3 separate regions of the Homo sapiens genome follow, and regions 2 and 3 are each linked to region 1. Evidence: promoter capture Hi-C in 16 types of primary human blood cells and fetal thymus (Javierre and others, 2016). All regions are on one chromosome and are shown on one strand. The core of a region is centred on a gene start or on the middle of the fragment in contact, and the rest is flanking DNA. Distances in the headings are between cores, read along the strand shown.

Region 1 (3,441 bases), core at 603-3,102:
TGTCCCTCTGCTCAGATCACAACACTCTGGGGCCTCAGCACAGGAGGCTTTTCCTTATCAGTTTTCTGTCCAAAGGGCGACAAGTGCTTTGGAAACAGTGTCCTGGGAGAACAGCCCAGAAGGGAACAGTGCACCTAATCAGGCTTGCCCCCAGAGAGTTCACCCAGACTGGTATCTAGGACAAAACCCACAACCTCACCCCCCCGCCCCAGGTCTCCTCAGGCAAAGCCCTGAAATAATGTTTCCTTTGCAGGGGACTCGGAATCTGGGGCAGGATGGGAATATGAGGGGACACTCTCCAATGAACTTCCCGATATTCCTGGGGTTCAGATCCGCGTCTGGATGCGTTTCTCGGATTCGGCTCCACACAAGCCTCAGCCCTCCGGACCTTGCACCTCCCCCGCGGATCTCCTCACCCCTCCACCCCCAGGCCCAGATCTTTCCTTGTCGGAATCGCCACGCTTCCTCACTCCTTTACCCCCGCCCCACTCGGCTCTCCTCTTCCTGGTCCTCATCCGGCCAGGCTGCCCCGCCCTGGTAGTTCCCGAGGGTCGTCCGAGGCTCTCGTCCACCAACCGCCCCCGTCTGGAAGAATGCGCCCGCTCGAGCGCACTCTCGGCGGGTGCCAAAGCCTCCCGCCTCAACAGGTGCCCCTGCCTGGCCACGCACAGCTCTGTCACCTGGGGCTCGGACGGAGACGGCGACAGGATCGCCCCCTGCAGGGCGGCTGCGGCTCCGCACGCCCCCGCCCGGGTCCCCAGAGCGCCAAGGGCCCCCGCAGCCCCGCCGCCGCCCCCGCTGTGCCACACTGCCTTTGTTTCCCTGCCCGCTTAGATGTCGCGAGGCTGACTTCATGCAAGGGTATCGCCAAGTTCGGGCGCTGACACTGCCCACCTACCCGTGGTGGCGGACCCTAAGGTTGGGAGTGAGAGACGCGTACAGTGCGAGACCTCTCCTCAACCCAGAGAACTCCGGGGAAGCTGGGTGTCCGCGCCGAAGAAGCGGGTTCAAGTTGACCCGGCTCAGAAGGGGGTTCGAAGCCAGGCGCAGCGCCTAGAGAGCCTTCCCCTACCCACGCCCCCACCCGATGTCCTCTGCCCCCAGAAGGCTGGAGAGGGGCTGCGCACTGCCACCTACGCGCTCGGCTGCGAGTGGTTCCCACCGCCCGCTCGCCGCGCGCTGGGCCCGGCAGCCTTCCGGGGCACACGAGGCTCCCGCAGCCCCCAGACTCCCGGCCCCGGCAGCGCAGAGCCGGGAGAGCCGCCACGTTCCCAGCCGCGCGCGCACGCCGGGCCCACCAAACTTGCAGCACTTTCTCCCAGCCCCCACCCTCTGTCACCCTCCCTTAGTCGGTGCGCCCCAGCCCCGCCGCCCGGCAGAGGTTGCCATAACAACGGGCAGGAATGCTCCAACATATACAAAGCCGGCCCGGCGCAGCGGGCACTCAGCCCTGGCCGGGCCCCGCGCCCTCGGCCGCCGCGCAGGGTCTGGACGCGCGCCGCGGCTCCCTAGCCGGCCGGCCGACGCTCGGGGCGTACTCACAATGAGCGGGATGGTGCGGTCCTCGCGGAGCTGCTCCGACCTCCTGCCTGCCCTCTGCGCGCCCCGGCCGCCGGAGGATGCTGCGTGGGCTCGGTTGTCCTGCCATAAGTAGTAGAAAGTGCCCAGGATCCAGGCTACGGTCAGGATGGCGATGGCATTGGCGCGGATCTTCCTCATGGTGGGCAGACGGGCGCCCCAGGTGGGGGACTGGGCCGGCGTGCTCTCGGGGCCGGGGCGGGGGCGCTCGCAGCCCCAGCTGTTTGTTTTCGCTCGCGCCTAGCTGCTCAGTCCTGCAGAGCAGAAAAAGGAGAGAGGTGGGGGGGCGGGGGGGTGATAGGGAGAGACAGGATCGCGGAGCGATCCTCACGGTCCTAATGCCCTTCAGCCCCGAGCGCGCGCGTCCCCCGGGCGCCCATTCATTCGTGCGCAGGGCCGGCCCCGCGCTCCAGCCGCCGCCGGCTGACCCACCAGGCCACTGCGCACTGGGAGAGAAGCGCGCCGAGTGGGAAGCGGCGCGGGCCTTCCTCCCGCGCCCGGGAACCCGGCGAGACAGACGCCCGCGGCGGAATGGCGACTGGCCAAAGCCAGCCTCGGCTCCCACCGCTAGGTGACCGAACGCCCGGCAGCTGCCCCCGCGCGGCCCTGGTCGGTCCTGCCGACCCACACCCACCCCCGGACCGAGCGGCCTTGAGTCACCGACTGGAGACGCGCGACCCCCGACCTGGGCCCGCGCCGCGAGCTGCAGTTCCGGGCTGCGCTCTGGCGCGGGATTCAAGGTGTGTTCGGCGAGTCCTTGTGTAGGGGCGGCTGGGCGGGGGAGAGTCCTGAGTTTGTACTGGAATCTGCAGCTGAGATTAGCCAGACCGGGCCCGCCCAGAGGAGGGATTGGAAGCTGGTGCACTTGACATTCGAAGAGCGCGAAGGGGAAACGACGCTGCCTCACACCCAGTGCTAGGAGAGTGCGGGTACGGCCCTTCCACATTTTTCGCTGGCCTGGGGCTCCCAGATTTCACGATGCTTCCCTCTATCCCGCCTCATTGACCCCTGGACAACCCTGAAATATCATCGTCAGCATTATTTCATCGGAAAGAAGGGCAGCAAGAGAGGCCGGATGATTCTCCCAAGGCCACACAGCTAATTAGTGGGCAGAGCCCAGTCTAGAAGCCATCTCACCATCTGACACCTTTCGACAAAGTGCAAAACGCGGTGGTGAGAGACGAGGACACAGACATTAAGATTCCGCTCCAGCCCTAGAGGCACTGAGAATCAGAACGTGAACTACTCTTCACTCCAGGCAGAAAGCAAGAGGCTTGGATGAGTTTTAGGAAACCAGCACAGTGTCGGGCACAGAGCGCTCAATGAATAGATGTGTAACAACAAAGTAGGGATCCAACAGAGGAAGAAATAATTTATTGTAAGGTGGCCTTTGGGAAAGCTCTCAGAAAGGTGGATGAATCACTTAAGAGGTAAGGAAGGGGGAGGTGAGGACAGGGGAGAGACTGCAGAAATAGGCCTTGCAAAAATCCAGAGGATGGAAGAGCTTGATGTGTTCAAGAGAGAGAGCTGCCAGGCGTTGCAGGGGGCCTAGGATTTGATAGGAGTTGAGGTTGGCCAGGCTGGGTGAGTCTGAACTCAGGAGGTCCTTGAATGCCGGGGCAGAGTTGTTGAGGAGTCTGCTTCCTGCTGGCACTGCTGGACACCATGGCTACTCCGAAGACCCACATAGGGTCCAGCCTCTAAATGAAGCCATCTGGGGAATCAGGCAAACTGAAGTCACAGCATCATGCCCCCCCACAAGCATCCCATGAGCACCACCCTGACAGATAGAAGTAAAATCAGGTGGCTTTTCTCCATTTCTCCAGCACTCGAGACTGAACCGCACATATAATAGATGCTCAA
Region 2 (3,007 bases), core at 345-2,844, 190 kb before region 1:
TCTCATGGATAGTCAGATTTTGTTATATTCCTCCAAAGAGTGACTTTTTTGTTTGTTTTGCTTTAAGTAGCTTGGTTGGATTAAAACTGCAAAATGTCTTTTGGGTTGCTGCTCAATTTTCAGTTTAATTTTTTTTTGTGCTTTTTTTTTTTTTTTTTTTGAGACAGAGTCTCACTTTGTTGCCCAGGCTGGAGTGCAGTGGCGTGACCTCGGCTCACTGCAAGCTCCGCCTCCCATGTTCACGCCATTCTCCTGCCTCAGCCTCCCGAGTAGCTGGGACTACAGACGCCCGCCAACACGCCTGGCTAATTTTTTTGTATTTTTAGTAGAGACGAGGTTTCACCGTGTTAGCCAGGATGGTCTCGATCTCCTGGCCTTGTGATCCACCTGCCTCGGCCTCCCAAAGTGCTGGGATTACAAGCCTGAGTGACTGTGCCCCATCACTTTTTTTTTTTTTTTTTGGAGACAGGGCCTCCCTCTGTTGCCCAGGCTAGAATACAGTGGCACAATATTGGCTCACTGTAACCTCCCTGTCCTGGTCTCAAGCTACCCTCCCACCTCAGTCTCCTAAGTAGCTGGGAGTACAAGCGCAGGTCACCACGACCAGCTAATTTTTGTATTTTTTTGTAGAAAAAAGGTTTTGACATGTTGCCCAGGCTGGTCTCAAACTTCTGGGCTCAAGCCATCCACCCACCTTGGCCTCCCAAAGTCCTGGGATTACAGGCATGAGCCACTGCATCCAGCCCAGTTTAGTTCATAATTATCTTCAGCTGAGCTACCTGGAGTCTGCCAAGCATGGTTCAGGGTCAGCTGGAGACCGAGGCAGTTCATATACAGAATTTGGGGCTGAGTTTCTCTTCGTTCTAGGATTCTCCCTTATTTTCAGTGCTGTAACCACTGAAACTCCTGAACTCTGTCCTCTGGTTCTTCAGTCCAGAAAGACTGAGTTTTCTATCAGAGTTTTAGCTGTCCCACAGGGGGCTGACTACTGAAAGCAGTAAAAATAGGAAATGCACCCTGTTCTAAGTGTTGACTCCCTTCCAGAATTTGCTTGCTTTGGGTTGCTCTCCACTGGTTTTTTGAATTCTGTCCAGCATTTTTAGTTACCTGTAAGGAGGCTGATCTGAGAGCTTACTTGGTCATATCAAAAGCAGAATGCTTGTGACCTTAATTTTGACTATCCGATCAAGGTATCATCTGATTTCTTCATTTAGTTACTTCTTTCCCCTTGAAGCCAATAAGGAAATAAAAATTTGCCCCCTACATTTAACATTCATTGATGATGCGTGCCTGAGCCAACCTTTAAGGAGGGTTGCAAAAATGAGTATTTTTCCAACTCCAGCACTCTTTCTACATTTAATAATTGGAGCATTCTACTATAAGCAAGTGCTCTCTCTCTCTCTCTCGCTCTCTCTCTCTCTCTCTCTATATATATATATATATATCACAGATGGGCTCATGGATTCCCATTTTTTTTTCTTTTTCTTTTTTTTTTTTTTTTGAGACAGAGTTTAGTTCTTGTCTCCCAGGCTGGAGTGCAATGGCACAATCTTGGCTCACTGCAACCTCTGCCTCCTGGGTTCAAGCAATTCTCCTGTCTCAGCTTCCCCAGTAGCTGGGATTACAGGCGTGTGCCACCATACCTGGCTAATTTTTGTATTTTTAGTAGAGATGGGGTTTCACCATGTTGGCCAGGCTGGTCTTGAACTCCTGACCTCAGGTGATGCACCCGCCTAGGCCTCCCAAAGTGCTGGGATTACAGGTGTGAGCCACCGCGCCCAGCCAGATTCCCATTTTTTGAATGGTTTATGCTTTATTACTGTTCTTAATTATGTTGGTGCTCAACTTATCCCACATGTGGCCAGTGGGAACCCTTTTAAGAGGGTTCCTATATCCTATGACATGCTCCCATCTTCTTCCTTCCTTCTGTTTTTTTCAGTTCTAGATGTTCCAAGCTCACTTGTACTTACCCTGCCCCTGTCCTGGAATCAGCCCTGAGTCTTCTCTGAAAGGCCCTGGCTTGCTCATGCTAGTGGGATGTCTTTATTTCTAGGCCCCATCTTCAGACAGAGCTAGGACATATATATATATATATGTATATATAAATATATATACAAAACCAAATACATTTAGAAATCCCGAGTCCAATACTTCCAATTCCAATAAGTCCCTATAGGGGTTCTTTCTTGCCTTCCTCCACTCCATACTTGTGTGTTCCTTCTTCCACACTTAGAACCCTGACTCCACCAACATCAACATGACCCATTGACTCAATCCTATAAAACATCTAAAGCAGCTTCAGAACTGTTTTGCCCATTCCATTACAAACAACAACAACAACAACAACAACAACGAGTTCAGTATTTGTTTATGGTTTTCTCCCAACTCTACCCAAGACTAAACATATGTAGTCAAATACTACATTCATAATTTACTTGAATTAGTTTTTGTTAAATCCCTTCAGTGTGATTGTATTATTCACTTGAAATACAATTCATCTGTTTCAGTTAGCGCTCCCATCCATATTGGTTTCATTCTATTTTTTGAATATGTAGAACATTAACATGTTTCCAAAAGTCAGAATTATACCAAAAAGGCATGCTCAGGGGAATATCATGTGCTCCCAAAACCCTTTTGCCCTCTCAACTCCTCCACCTCACCCCATGCAGTTAATAAATGTCTTTTGTTTTCTAGCCAGTTCTTCTTCTGTTTCTTTTTTGTAAAGGTAAGTAGATACACTTGACCACTGCACTGAACAATGTGGATGTTGGAGTGTTGACCCCCTACACAGTCAAAAATCCACATACAACTTTTCACTCCCCAAAAACTTAACCACTAATAGCCTACTGTTGATCAGAAGTCTTAATGATAACAAAGTCGATTAACACGTATTTTATTTGTTATATGTATTAATACTGTATTTTTACAAAAAAGTAAGCTAGGTAAAAGAAAATGTTATTTAAAAATCATAAGAAAGAGAAAATATATTTACTATTAAGTGGAAGTG
Region 3 (3,188 bases), core at 224-2,723, 230 kb before region 1:
GCATCAAGAGGATACACCGCAACATTGTAAAGCTCCAGGGTAGGCTTTAACTTTGTAACATACCAGGGAAGTACTCTGCAACATCGTAGCATACCACAGTACACTGTAACTTTACAACACACCAGGAGAGTAGACTGCAACATTGTAATGTGCCACAATATATTGCAACATTGTAAGTTTATATTAGGTATAGGAAGAGTGAAGACCGGGAGGAATCAATGGTTTAGGGGTCCAGCCAAGGGAGCTCCCCAAGATGTGACAACTAAGCAGGGCTTTGAAGAATGAATAGGAGTATCTTGGGAATTTGGAAGGAAATGGAAGTGGGAGAGATCCATTCCAGACAGAGGGAACAGCATAGGCAAAGAATAGTGTGTTCAAAGTTATAAAAATATCTCTGGTATTATTGGCAGAAAGTGCAAAGGGTGGGCAGTGGTGCAGGGGAGGTGCGGTAAGGAGTGAGTTAAGGTCAGAGAGCAGGGACAGAGCGGGGCAGAGTGAGTAGTCCTTGTGAAGACGCTGGACTTCTTCCTGCAGACAAGGGGAGCTGCCAGCAAGTTTCAAACAGGGCACTTATAAGGTCATATTGTAGTTTTAGCCATAGGGAAGTCCACAACCAGGCAAAGGGAAAATTAAATTTATTGGGAGGTACAAATCAGCAAGGCTCATCGAAATGTTAAACAAGGGCAGAGTGAGCAGGAACTGGGATGACACGATGACCAGGACTCTAGCTTGGGTCACAGAGTGGCACAGGTGCCATCCAATATGAATTAGGGAATCCAAGAAGGGTTTTCTCAAGCTTTAGCTTTGTCCCCATCTTCTGCCCCCCTCCCCAGTGCTCTGAATGCAACAAGGGCTCAACCAGAGCTTGATGGTCACCACTGCCTCATGATAAGCCCATCTGGAGCCAAGGAAAATGTTATCTAGAACCACAGGTATCTTCTATGTTGGGCAGGTCCTGTTAAACAAAGGCCTATCCAGTCTCTGTCCACTCAGGTGAGCTCCCTAATGTTTGGAGATGCGAATGCCACTGAGTTTAGGAGTAGGAGCTAGAAAGGGCTTTGCTTAACAGAGTGAAAGAAATTTGAATTTGGGGAAAATCCTGTAGGACAATAGGGAGGAGGAGTGATGGCAGAGTGCAGAGGAGAGAGGATCCTGGGAGGATCCAAGAGTCCAGAGAGAGAGTGATGTCACCATCTCTGGTGACAGCGAGGTGGGGTGCCTACCAGAGACCTAACGCTCAATTTGAAGATGTTTGCAATTCTGTAATTTAAATACCTCCTCTGCCCTCCTCTTTGCCACAGCTTCCCTTCAGGATAGGCTGCTAGACTCATAAATACCTGCTGTGTTTATGCAGCAGTGTGGAAGGCTGGAAAACTGAGGAATAAAAGCTGAGTTCCACCTCTGGTTGTGCAACAAGGACCGTGTACATTGGTCAGCAAATTAATCCATCAACCAAGAAACTAGTTTACAGCCTCTTAGAGATTAACAGAAACCTTGGTACAGATTTTAGACTTCCTTTAGATATGGGATTTGGTCTTGGGACCAAATTTATCTCACTCTCAAGAGAGCAGCAAGAGCCTAGTGGATGTGTGAGTTACACATGAGTTACATTTTCCAGGAAGGCGAACATCCAGCCTGGCTTCTCCCTCTTCCCCGGGCACAAACTTCCAGAATAGGCCCAGCAGCCAGTCTCCCTCCTCTCCGAGCCTCCTGGATACTGAGAATGGCTATGTAGGGGGTGGAACTGGAGAAGGACTGCCCTCAGAAGTGTCCTTTTCAGAACTGGCAGAAGGAAGGTAGAAATGACACAGCCCCAGTGTGTGTCCCTTGTGTCCATTCTGGATGGCCTGGTGTGCTCAGGAAATGCTCATCCTGGCCTGTGCTTCTCATCTGGCATCCAGTCTAAGATGGCAGAACAGCAGGAATTCTATCTGTGAAATGCATGAGTCATGACACATTAGAGTTCAGAGAGATTATCAAGTCCAAGGGGGCTCAAAAAACTTAGTCCCCCTGGAACAAGTATTCCAACAACAGTAAGACAACCGTAATGTGTAAAACAGGAGTCTTCAACCCCTGGGCCCTGGACCAGTACCAGTCCATGGCCTGTTAGGAACTGGGCCACACAGCAGGAGATGAGCAGGTGAAGCTTCATCTGTTTTTACAGCTTCTCCCCGTGGCTGGCATTACCGCCTGAGCTCCGCCTCCTGTCAGATCAGCGGCGGCATTAGATTCTCATAGGAGCACCAACCCTTTTGTAAATTGTGCATGGCAAGGGATCTAGGTTGCACAGTCATTATGAGAATCTAATGCCTGATGAAACCACCCCCACACCCACCCCTGTCCTTGGAAAAATTGTCTTCCATGAAACCAGTCATGGCACCTGGTGCCAAAAACGTTGGGGACTGCTGGTGTAAAACATATAACAGGGGGCTCATGCCTGTAAACCCAGCACTTTGGGAGGCCGAGGCGGGCAGATCACCTGAGGTCAGGAGTTTGAGAACAGCCTAGCCAACATGGCGAAACCCCATCTCTACTCAAAAATACAAAAATTAGCCGGGCATGGTGGTACATGCCTGTGATCCCAGCTAATCGGGAGGCTGAGGTATGAGAATTCCTTGAACCTGGGAGGCAGAGGTTGCAGTGAGCCAAGATCACGACACTGTACTCCAGCCTTGGTGACAGAAGGAGACTCTCTCTCAAACAAACAAACAAACAAACAAACAAAAAATATATATAACAGTGCAGAGGTATTGCTTGAAGTGGGTGGGGAGTCTTGGAGCTGTACCCCTGTTCCCCATTCCCTTGTGGTAGACTCAAGGCACCTCTGGGGTCATTTGTGGCACACAGTTTGACCCATCCCATTCCCACTCTATAGATGAGACACTGCTGGCCAGTGGGGTGAAATGCCACAGCCTGGATCATGCAGCTGGTTACTGGCAGAGCTGGGGCTGGAACTTGGAGCACCTGCCTCTAAGCTTAGATTCACTTTCTTTTTTTTTCCTTTTTTTTTTTTTTTTTTTTTTTGAGATGGAGTATCACTCTGTCCCTCAGGCTGGAGTGCAGTGGCTCAATCTCTGCTCATTGCAACCTCCACCTCCTAGGTTCGAGCGATTCTCCTGCCTCAACCTCCTGAGTAGCTGGGATTACAGGCACCCACCACCATGCCTGGCTAATCTTTGTATTTTTAG

The links. The method cuts DNA at HindIII sites, captures the fragments that hold promoters and counts their contacts. A CHiCAGO score of 5 or more calls a contact.
Region 2: a contact is called between a fragment that was not itself captured here and the fragment with the promoter of GALNT16 in region 1, in 4 of 17 cell types (M0 macrophages, M1 macrophages, M2 macrophages and 1 more). The highest score is 6.2, in M0 macrophages.
Region 3: a contact is called between a fragment that was not itself captured here and the fragment with the promoter of GALNT16 in region 1, in 2 of 17 cell types (M1 macrophages and M0 macrophages). The highest score is 6.5, in M1 macrophages.

The regions. Positions count from the first base shown.
Region 1 is chr14:69,258,569-69,262,009 of GRCh38, reverse strand. GALNT16 (polypeptide N-acetylgalactosaminyltransferase 16) reads right to left here and starts at 1,852. Exons shown (of 15, transcript NM_001168368.2): 1 at 1,543-1,852. The coding sequence starts at 1,719. GALNT16-AS1 (GALNT16 and EXD2 antisense RNA 1) reads left to right here and starts at 1,483. Exons shown (of 4, transcript NR_184249.1): 1 at 1,483-1,720. RefSeq lists a silencer at 747-806. The HindIII fragment of the contact is 12,811 bases long and covers 1-3,441 here.
Region 2 is chr14:69,445,368-69,448,374 of GRCh38, reverse strand. All of the region lies in intron 3 of SLC39A9 (solute carrier family 39 member 9), which reads right to left. Among named protein-coding and RNA genes, the nearest start is that of PLEKHD1, 38 kb to the left of the region's middle. The HindIII fragment of the contact is 4,573 bases long and covers 1-3,007 here.
Region 3 is chr14:69,489,395-69,492,582 of GRCh38, reverse strand. The region is part of intron 1 of PLEKHD1 (pleckstrin homology and coiled-coil domain containing D1); the gene reads right to left. Among named protein-coding and RNA genes, the nearest start is that of PLEKHD1, 6.3 kb to the right of the region's middle. The HindIII fragment of the contact is 1,350 bases long and covers 799-2,148 here.